Regions from separate parts of the Homo sapiens genome. Here region 2 is linked to region 1. The links are contacts of gene promoters, found by promoter capture Hi-C in blood cells and fetal thymus (Javierre and others, 2016). All regions are on one chromosome and are shown on one strand. Each heading gives the region's core, a stretch centred on a gene start or on the middle of the fragment in contact. The rest is flanking DNA. Distances are from core to core; before and after follow the strand shown.

Evidence for each region. Contacts are between HindIII fragments. The CHiCAGO score rates a contact against its expected background, and 5 or more counts as called.
Region 2: a contact is called between a fragment that was not itself captured here and the fragment with the promoter of FMO4 in region 1, in 6 of 17 cell types (naive B cells, total B cells, naive CD4 T cells and 3 more). The highest score is 9.8, in naive B cells.

Annotation. Positions count from the first base shown.
Region 1 is chr1:171,311,159-171,316,195 of GRCh38, reverse strand. It overlaps FMO4 (flavin containing dimethylaniline monoxygenase 4), which reads right to left and starts at 2,013. Exons shown (of 10, transcript NM_002022.3): 1 at 1,783-2,013; 2 at 1-10. The HindIII fragment of the contact is 2,730 bases long and covers 709-3,438 here.
Region 2 is chr1:170,968,967-170,974,003 of GRCh38, reverse strand. It overlaps MROH9 (maestro heat like repeat family member 9), which reads right to left. Exons shown (of 22, transcript NM_001163629.2): 8 at 2,121-2,256. Among named protein-coding and RNA genes, the nearest start is that of MROH9, 36 kb to the right of the region's middle. The HindIII fragment of the contact is 740 bases long and covers 1,625-2,364 here.

The sequences.
Region 1 (5,037 bases), core at 764-3,263:
TGCTCTATCTCTGCAATCATAAGGTAAAAAGAAATGACTGCTAACTGAATTGCCAAAGTGAAAAATATACTGACGTGAATAGACTGGAAGCAAATTAATTCATTCAACAAATATGCCCTGGGTACCTCTAAGTGCAGGTCCTAAGCTAAGTATGGGGCCCTGAAGATAATGAAGACCCTGCAACTAAGAAATAGTAGTAAAGTCTTAGAATTTAAAAAAGACCGTGACTGCTCTTAAGATGTTGTATATGGAGAGGCTGATACTACCTTGTGCTAAGTCCTATGGTAGCAGCATGCTCTAGGCATGAATGCTTGCACTCTCCTGGCCTGTTTATTATCCCTGTCTAGAGACCTAGTTAGTGACACAGAGTGGCCTGTGGGGTTAAAAACGTGCTGGGCAAAAGCACTTTAAGGACTGACTTAGAGACTCTACAGGCAGTAGAAACAAATTGGGAATTAGCACCTTTTAAAATTAATCCGTATTTACAGACTATAAATTTCTGAATGGGAGCAACCTTTTTAAATTTTGCCTTGAGTCAGTAGAGGAAGGTAGTGAGTGAACTGGAAATTGAGAGATCTGAGTTCTAGTTCTGCTTCTGCCTCTAAGCAGCTTGTAACCCTGGACACAATTCTCAATTTCTCTGAGCCAGTGCTTCCACATTTGTAAAACAGAGGGTTCAAGTGGCTTTCTCTTTGTTTCCTTCAAGCTTGAAAGGACTGTTCTTATGTCTGAAAACCAAGTAATTGGTGCACAAAAAAAAAAAGATATGAATTCAAAGGTAGGCGAGAATACTGCAGGCTTGAAGGATTGGGAGAACGTGTGTGCAAACTCTGCAAACTATAAAGTGGACTTCATAAGGTACTTGGTTGCTCAAAGGTGCTTATATTTATTTATTTATTTATTTGAGTTGGAGTCTCACTCTGTCTTCCAGGCTGGAATGCAGTGGCACAATTTCGGCTCACTGCAACCTCCACCTCCTGGGTTCAAGTGATTCTCCTGCCTCAGCCTCCTGAGTAGCTGAGACTACAGGCAGGCGGCACCACGCCTGGATAATTTTTGTATTTTTAGTAGAGACGGGGTTTCACCATGTTGGTCAGGCTGGTCTCAAACTCCTGATCTCAAGTGGTCTGCCCTCCTCGGCTTTCCAAAGTGCTGGGATTACAGGCGTGAGCCACCGTGCCAGCCATAGGTTGCTTATATTTAGTCCCTTGGCAGAAAGGAGACCTGACCTATTGAACTAGACCTTTGTACAACGGGAAAACCCCACCCTATACCTGACTGACCAGCAAATGTAGGAATCCTTTATGAGACATGGAGAGACTTGGGTGATTTGCAAATCATGTAATCAATTATGATTTCTTTGAATTTGAAATTTGATCATTTTATGTTTCTTATCATCATCCTACCATGCTCTTGCTTTGTTACAGTATTTTTTTCCCACGCCATCTATGGGGTATTTGTTTCCCAATGGCTGGCATTTCCATCTCATTCATAAGATGAAATCAGAGGTCACTGGAGTCACTGAAAGTCTCATGATTCTGTTTATCTCACTGACACTTTCCTTTTGGATGGTTCTGTCCACAACATAACTTTGTTTCCTTACAACTTCCCTTTGCTTCCTGACTCTCTCCTTAATTCTCTTGCTTTAGCCCTAGTCAAGAGACCCCAAAAGAAGATAATCACATTCATTCTTAAGGAACACACTCCAAGAAAAACATTCATCTTTTGTGAAAGCAGTTTCTGGATCATTTCCCCATTAAAAAAAAAATCCAGGACACTTACCTTGGTTAGCATAGAGCAGATTCTTTGACTTAAATTATTTCTCAAAGTCAAGGAAAGTGTTTGTCTTTTTTTTTTAAAAAAGCTCAAAACCCAAATTCTTTTTTCTGAAAGAAAAATAAATGGAAAGATGACTTTTGTAAAAGTGCCCTCAGTTTAAAACAAAAGCCATTCGTCTTTTCTGTTATGCTAGTGACAGCAGAAAGTATACAGACTAAGGAAAAAAAGTTGTGTAAGAGGCAAGCGTGATACTTCCGTGATCTTAAGGGAGGGCGGAATGGTGAGTTAGAATACAGCTGTTGGATTGGCAGAACATAAACGCTTCCTGCCCCTTTACCCCACCCTCCTCAACGTCATAGTTCTGGCAAAGCCCTAAAGCTATGGGAAGCACATGATAGCGTCGCTTTTGCCATTATAGTCTGTAGAGGGCGCCAAATCACCCCAAATTACAGCTTTCTCAGCGAAACAGGAGTTCTACTTTTGGAAACAAACTTCTACACCCTGACTCTTGCTTGGATTACCATAGGAGCTGTCCAAAGGAGAAAGTTATTTAGATGACCATTACCTCATCAAGTTCTTTCATGCTTGGAGTTCTCCAACCCCAGAAATGTGATTTTAAAGTTCAGGACTTACAAGGAATTTAAGCTGTTTTGTCCTTCAGATTGGATCAGCAGAGGGAGCTGGTGAAATGTGTTTGAGAAAGCATAAAGCTATTTTTAGATATTAACCTAGGGCACAAGAAAGGTAATAATTATAGAAGCTGTGGCAGAAATAGAAAACTTAACTGTTTTTCCTTCCACTGTGTGCTTGTAAGATAATATAACAGACCATCTTTAGGACTTGTGTTTAGGGACATTTTCCAACATGGTTCACTGAACAATTTCTAAACCACATTTGCTTGTGACTACACATGCAAATGCCTACAGGAGTGAGGAGGGTAACATACACGAGGAAAGTGGGCCAGATATGATCTGACTGGAAAGTACTTTCTCTGTCTATTCAGTTCAGCTAAATGTTGCTATTTGAGAAAATGAGCCCAATATGGCAAGGCCTTAGGTTCTTTTCAGTAAAAGCTGCAAATACAGATTTTAATATAAAATCTTCTGTTGGCAGCAAATATTTTCTTTTGAAAAATATCATGGAATATTATGCAGCCATAAAAAGAAATAAGATCATGTCCTTTGCAGGGACATGGATGAAGCTGGAAGCCATCATCCTCAGCAAACTAACACAGGAACAGAAAACCAAACACTGCATGTTCTCACTCATAAGTGGGAGTTGAACAATGAGAACACATGGACACAGAGAGGGGAATGTTGTAGGGCCTGTTGTAGGGTAGGGGGTGAGGAGAGGGAACTTAGAGGAGAACAGGTCAATAGGTGCAGCAAATCACCATGGCACACGTGTACCTATGCAACAAACCTGCACGTTCTGCACATGCATCCCACTTTTTTTTAGAAGAAATAAAGAAAAAAATTTAAAAAAAGAAAAAAAAATATTGTGTCCAGAGTTAGTTCCTTCCGGTGGGTTCCTGGTCTCCCTGACTTCAAGAATGGAGCTGCGGACCTTTGTGGTGAGTGTTACAGTTCTTAAAAGATGGCACAGACCCAAAGAGTGAGCAGCAGCAAGATTTATTGTGAAGAGCGAAAGAACAAAGCTTCCACAGAGTGGAAGGGGACCCGAGCCAGTTGCTGCCGCTGGCTGGGGTGGCCAGCTTTCTCTTATTTGTCCCCTCCCATGTCCTGTTTCTGTCTTATCAGAATGCCCTTTTCTCAATTCTCCCCACGATTGGTTACTTTTAGAATCCTGCTGATTGATCCATTTTACAGAGCGCTGATTGGTCCATTTTACAGAGCACTGATTGGTCCATTTTACAGAGAACTGATTGGTGCATTTTACAAACTTCTTGCTAGCTACAGAGCACTGATTGGTGCATTTTACAATCCTCTTGTAAGACAGAAAAGTTCTCCAAGTCTCTACTCGACCCAGGAAGTCCAGCTGGCTTCACCTCTCAATACCCCCTTTAAACAGGACACCCCAACTGCTTTTGAGAATTGCGCAATGACTGCTCTAGCTACTTCCTGCTGGATAGGGGTGAAGAAGAGACCCTGAATTGTAGTATCCTCCAGAGGGAAACTCTCTAGGTATCAAAGGGCCAGTGGGTCGATCCAGGGGGTCCTTGGTAGAAGTTGTTAGTTGAGCTCATTTGGGGTTTAATTTGCAAAACCATCTGTAGCTTGATGGCCTCGATCCTGGAGGAAACAAATTGACAAAGAGCTTAAAAATACAGGGCCCGAAGGCAAGTAATAGCAAGATGGTTGTCATGAGACCTAGAAAGGGGAGAAGCCATGTTGCCCAACTCCAGAGAATGGTATAAGAATTTGAAAGGCATTGTCTGATTTCAGAAGACTTTTCCTGTAAATGCCGGGTGGCGTCTCATATTAACCCTGACTGGTTAGTGTAAAAGCAACACTCGTCCCCTAAGAAGGTGCAAAGTCCTCCTTTCTCAGCAGTGAGGAGGTTAGGCCTCAGTGGTTTTAGAGAGTCACTGCTGCCAAAGAGTCTATTTGGGATTGTAGAGTAAGGATAGATTTTGTTCTTTCTTGCAAACTGCCTGAGAAATGCTTTGAGAGTGTGTGGTAGTAGGATAATGAAGTGGATAAATCTGCTATTCCGGTTCCTGTAGCAGTGGCCATTCCTAACCCTATAAGTAGGGGTATTAGTTGTATGGCCCTGTGCTGATGGACTTGTGCTTTGAGGAGCACTGATAGGGTCTGGGCAATGTTTATATTGGGACTTAGGAAGACTAAGGTGCAGGTGCCTGTCCAGTTGGTGGGGAGGCAGATATAGGTTGACATTCCATGTAAGAAGAATACGTCTTGGCTGGGTAGACAGAACTGGTTGTGTACGTTAAAAAGGTGTGTGAGTTTGTTGTTTTCATTTTCCCATACTCCTAGAGTACGTGCCAAGGTGGCTCCGGTGAGTGGCTGGAAAGGGGTGTTGGGAGCAAACTGAGTGGCTCCCTGTGCTCTATCTTCCCATTGGGGGAAAAAGCCGTTTTGTATCTACTAGGAACCATTCAATAGATTAATTGAAAGAGGGGATGAGGAGGCATTCACTAGTGGTGGGGGCACTGCTGCAGGGGGTCCAGGGGTGAATGGTCATGCAGGGAGTATGTTTGCTATTAAAAAACCCAGACTGTTTGTTAAGCAGGGAGGAGGTGATGATTTTTGGAGGCTCTGAGAAGTGGACAAGCCA
Region 2 (5,037 bases), core at 745-3,244, 340 kb after region 1:
CCAGAGGTTCAATATAAGTCTTTTAGGAGTTTTTCTGTCTCTACTTAAGATGTTTTTATCTTCTAATTCCTTTAATAAGTGGAATGTAGTTATAATAATTCTTTTAATGTCACACTCTACTCATTCTATCATCTGTGCCATTTCTCTATCGCCCAGGCTGGAGTACAGTGGCACGATACCAGCTCACTGCAACCTCTGCCTCCCAGGTTCAAGCAATTCTCCTGTCTCAGCCTCCTGAGTAGCTGCGATTACAGGCACGCACCACCATGCTCAGCTAATTTTGTATTTTTAGTAGAGACGGGGATTCACCATTTTAGCCAGGCTAATCACGAACTCTTGACCTCAGGTGATCTGCCCGCCTCGGCCTCCAAAAGTGCTGGGATTACAGGCATGAGCCACCGTGCCCAACCTAATAATTTTTTTTAAATTGGATTTCAGACATTGTTAATTTTAACTTGTTGAGTGCAGGAACTTTTTTTTTTATTTCTAGGGGTATTCTTCAGCTTTGTTTTGGTAGGTAATTAAAATATTTGGAGATAGTGATACTTTTAGATCTTGTTTTAAGGCCTTTTTAAGTAGCACTAAAACAGTTTAGGATGATTTTTTTTCTCCTAATGAGACAAAACCCGTCTGAGTACTGTACCTCGGTACTTGTGAATTATAAGGTTTTAAATTCTGGCTTACAGGCACAGGCATTATCACTAGCCTTTGTTGAGCACTGAATCTTTTTCTCTAATCATTTTTGTTGTTTCCTACCCTTCAAACTCAGGCAGTTTACTTGCATGCATGTTCTCATTAGTACTCAGCTAAATACTTAAAGGGGGCTCTCTTTAGATCTCTGCAGATCTCGAGTTTGTGGGTTTGTGCGTGCGTGTGTGTGTGTGTGTATGCGTGTGCATGCACTCATGTACTCCGTTCTGGTACCCTGGCCTTTCAACCCTAGCTATTGACCTCTCTGGACTCCCATTTCTGTCTTTTTAACTTGATGAGACCACTGGCTTATCTCTTTTTGTGTTGGCTCTTAGAAATGTACTCTAGGTGGTAAGCTCAGGCAATTACAAACCCCACCTCATTCGTTCTCACCTCCTCATCTTTCAAGAGTCATTGTCCTTTATTATTTAATGTGCAATGAATTGAAAACTCTGTGTGTGTGTGTGTGTGTGTGTGTGTGTGTATTTTTTTTTTTTTTTTTGAGGCGGAGTCTTGCTCTGTCACCCACGCTGGAGTGCAGTGGCATGATCTCGGCTCACTGTAAGCTCTGCCTCCTGGGTTCACGCCATTCTCCTACCTCAGCCTCCTGAGTAGCTGGGATTACAGGTGCCTGCCACCACACCCGGCTTATTTTTTTGTATTTTTTAGTAGAGAGGGGGTTTCACTGTGTTAGCCAGGATGGTCTCGATCTCCTGACCTTGTGATCCGCCCACCTCAGCCTCCCAAAGTGCTGGGATTATAGGCGTGAGCCACTGTGCCTTGCCAAAAACTATGTATATTTTTAAGGTTGCTTACTATAGGAGTGTAAATAGAGTAAATGTGTTCTCTGTTATTACATCCTGGACAGAAACAGAGGCATAGCCTCCATAGACAGAGGCTCCACCCCTTACAAATATACAAATATTCTTAAGCTTTGTTCTAAAATGCAATTAAATTACTTGGAAATAGCTTAATACTTTCAGGTCTTGCTTTTATGCTTTGTTAGACAAGCCACAGCAACATTTATTTTAATCCTAGTCTTATTTTTCTCCACCATTGAAGCAAGAATCTTCTGAGTAGTCTATCAGATACTCAATTAGACAGAAAAAAATACCGCATTTTTAAAGTCCCATTGGTAAACTCTCTCCTTCTCTGTCCTCCCTGGATCCACCCAGCATTCCTCTCCCTACCATTAACCCTCAAGTAATCTAAGCACAGTACTTTATAAATCTTGAAGAACCAACCACACTATTACCAAAATTTCTTGACAATGCTAAAAAGATTAAAAGACACATTTTAGAAAGTATAGCCATGACTCTTGGGGCAGGATTTAGAAATTAACAGACGTAGAGCCTTCCCAGGACCTATAAGTTGAATAACGAGGGACATATTCTTAGTAATCCTGAGAAAAGATGGTGAACTGTTCTTACCGTTCTGACACCGTGCAATGTAGAGGAGGTGACACATTCCCAATGATGCTTGTTTTACAATCGAGGGATCTTCATGGGAACACAAAAGAGACAGCTCTGCTGCCAGGAGACCCAAACATGGAGCATCAACACTTATCTAATGGAGAAACAAAGGAGAACATGCATTTGCTATGCATAGCCAATATGAAAATGTCTGCATGCATCTGATCCTGTTATAAATCAGACTAGGATTCTAAGATAAGCTTCAGAGTTTACAATATCTGTAATCAAATCCTGGCCCCGTTACTGACTCTCAATTTCCTCATCTGTGAAATGAAGACAATAAATTCCACTTTGTAACAGTTATTGTGGAGAGTAAGGGGTAACACTGATGACAAGAAGAAAAATTCCTAGGAAAGTACTTGGACATAATGGTGACTCAACTAATGTTAGTTTCTATGCCATGAAGTGGGTAGTCACTTGCAGGTAGCAAATTCCCAGGACATAGAAAAGTAAGGTGGGCTGTGTATTTCCAAAACCTTTAGTACTTCCTTCTTCACATACGAAACACTAGATGTTTCTACAAGTCACTGAGGAGGCATGCCACTTTTCCTCTGGAAGTTATTCTGACTCCTCTCAAGGGAATTCATTTTTTTAAAATGCAGATCATTTGCTTTTGATGTCAAAGCTACTACCAAAATATTTCTGTATTTCTTTCTACAACTTCTTCAACCCTTAGACTGATCAAATATTTAGATTTTCACCTTAATGGACCTCTCTGGCTAGATAATATCCAAACAGAGAAGGGAGTAGAGAGAGAAAAGAGGAAAGGTAGAAAAGGCATTTGCTTTTATGAAAGTATGAGGGCCTTTACCAATTTTGCATGTCTTTTTTTAGACAAAGAAGGGCTCTGATTAAATGTAGATTTGGCAAACTAGCAGCATGACTTGCAGATAGTTCTTGCCTCCAAGACAAGTGAGTACTTTTCCTAGGTAGAGGCTTTGATGATTGGAGCAATTGTTGATGGTAAACTCTAGGGGGATCCCAAGGCCTGCTTCTGCTTCTGTTGACCTTTTTCATGCCCCATTTTCCCTGCCCTTTATGTGGCTTAACTCACCACTCCCTGCCCACTCTGTCTCTCTCTCTCTCTCTCTCTCTCTCTCTCTCTCTCTCACACACACACACACACACACACACACACAGAAATTCCTAAGGAAGAAATATGAAGTGACCTGGGTCATCTAGGTCATGGGCGAAGGCCATAATTGAATTGTGATGTGGGGAGTGATGATCTCAGTAGGAGAAGAGAGATTATAAATCTCTTTTTTTCCATGGATATTCTCCTTGCATTCTTTTCCACCCGTACAAAGAGTGGCCTGGTCCTTCCCCTTATAGGAGCTCTGTGGCTTTGGAGAATCTGGGAGCAGACAGCCTCTGCTCTAGGCCCTAGGGGGAAATGCTCTCTTTGCCTGAATGTCCTTTTCTTTGGGTTTGCATTCCAAGTTTTTTTTTTTTCCCACTCGATGGCAAGATCTTAAAACCATCATTGTGTATGGGCATGAGAAAAAGGATCAAGTTTTCTCTCTCTACTGGGTATGAGAGAAGAGTAGTACTTCTCACAGCTTACCTCACTGAAGCTGAGCACCACTTACAGGGGATTGGCCTTACAGTCATCTTATATTACAGGTTTTGCCTCAAATGTCCTCTCTGATTATCCCTGCTCAGGAGCTTGTTAGATGTGTAGTTCTTAGTAGATGTTTTTGTAAATGAAGCTCCTAGTGGTTTCCTTCTGTTCTGTTTGCCAGTTAGGATCTATCTAGGTGTATGTCTCTAGCAGAGTATGTGTGGTCGTGCCTAGACTGCATATCCACTTACTGTCACCAACTAAAAAGGCATGTTTAGGAAGTGGGACATGACCCAAGGTAGGCTGAGAGAGGAGTAAGGCAGCGTGGATCGTGGAGCACACTGATGTATATCCTGCCAAGCCCCTTCAGAAGCGTGACAACCACAGTTACCCCTCCTCTAAGATGAGACTTTGAGAGCTTTCGGTATGATATATCCTGCCTTTATAGAAAATCTACCCAAGTACTAAAAAGAAGCAGATATTTAAAAACTGGAGAAAAGTAGCTTCTCGGTATTCACTCCTAAACCTAAGTATTCCTGCTTAGTTTTCTGGCCCTTTTAACTGTGCCCTTTCTTTGTAGATCTGGCCTCTCCAGTCCCTTATCTTAACAGTAATGATAGTGTTAAGTGCTAGGTTCCAGAAGCAACCACTTCTATGGTTTTCAGCTGCTTCTTCTGGAAGTCTCCCCTGTTTCTATAAACAATGCACCTTTGCTTCTAACATCAGTTTGAGACATTGTCTATCTCAATTCCATTCTTCCACTTCGCCACAATTCTCTCAATAGAGAACATTACTCATCATAGTATATTATTTTTAATTCTTCTACTTTTGTGTTTTACTAATATATTAATACTTTTATTTCTTGTTTCATAGAACAGAATAACAGAATAGGAATGTAACAGGATAAAACATAACAGAATAGGAACATAAGTAGAATCATACAAAATGTAGCCTTTTGTGCCTGGCTTCTTTCACTTAGTATAATGTTTTCAAGGTTTATGCATGTTGTAGCATGTATACAACTTGATTCCTTTTTTTGAGTGGATAATATGCCATATGTGTGTGTTAGATTTTATTTGTTCATTTATCTGTTGATGGACATTTAGATTGCACTTTTCAGCTACTGTGAATTTTGCTGCAATGAACACTTTGTACAAGTTTTTGTTTGAGAAACTGTTAAATTCTTTTAGGTATATACCTAAGATTTCTGTGTCAAATAGCAATTCTATGTGTAACTTGTTGGAGAACCACTAAACTATTCTCTGCACTTTAATTTTTGCACTTTTGAGCTCATAGCATTTACATTGTATTCAG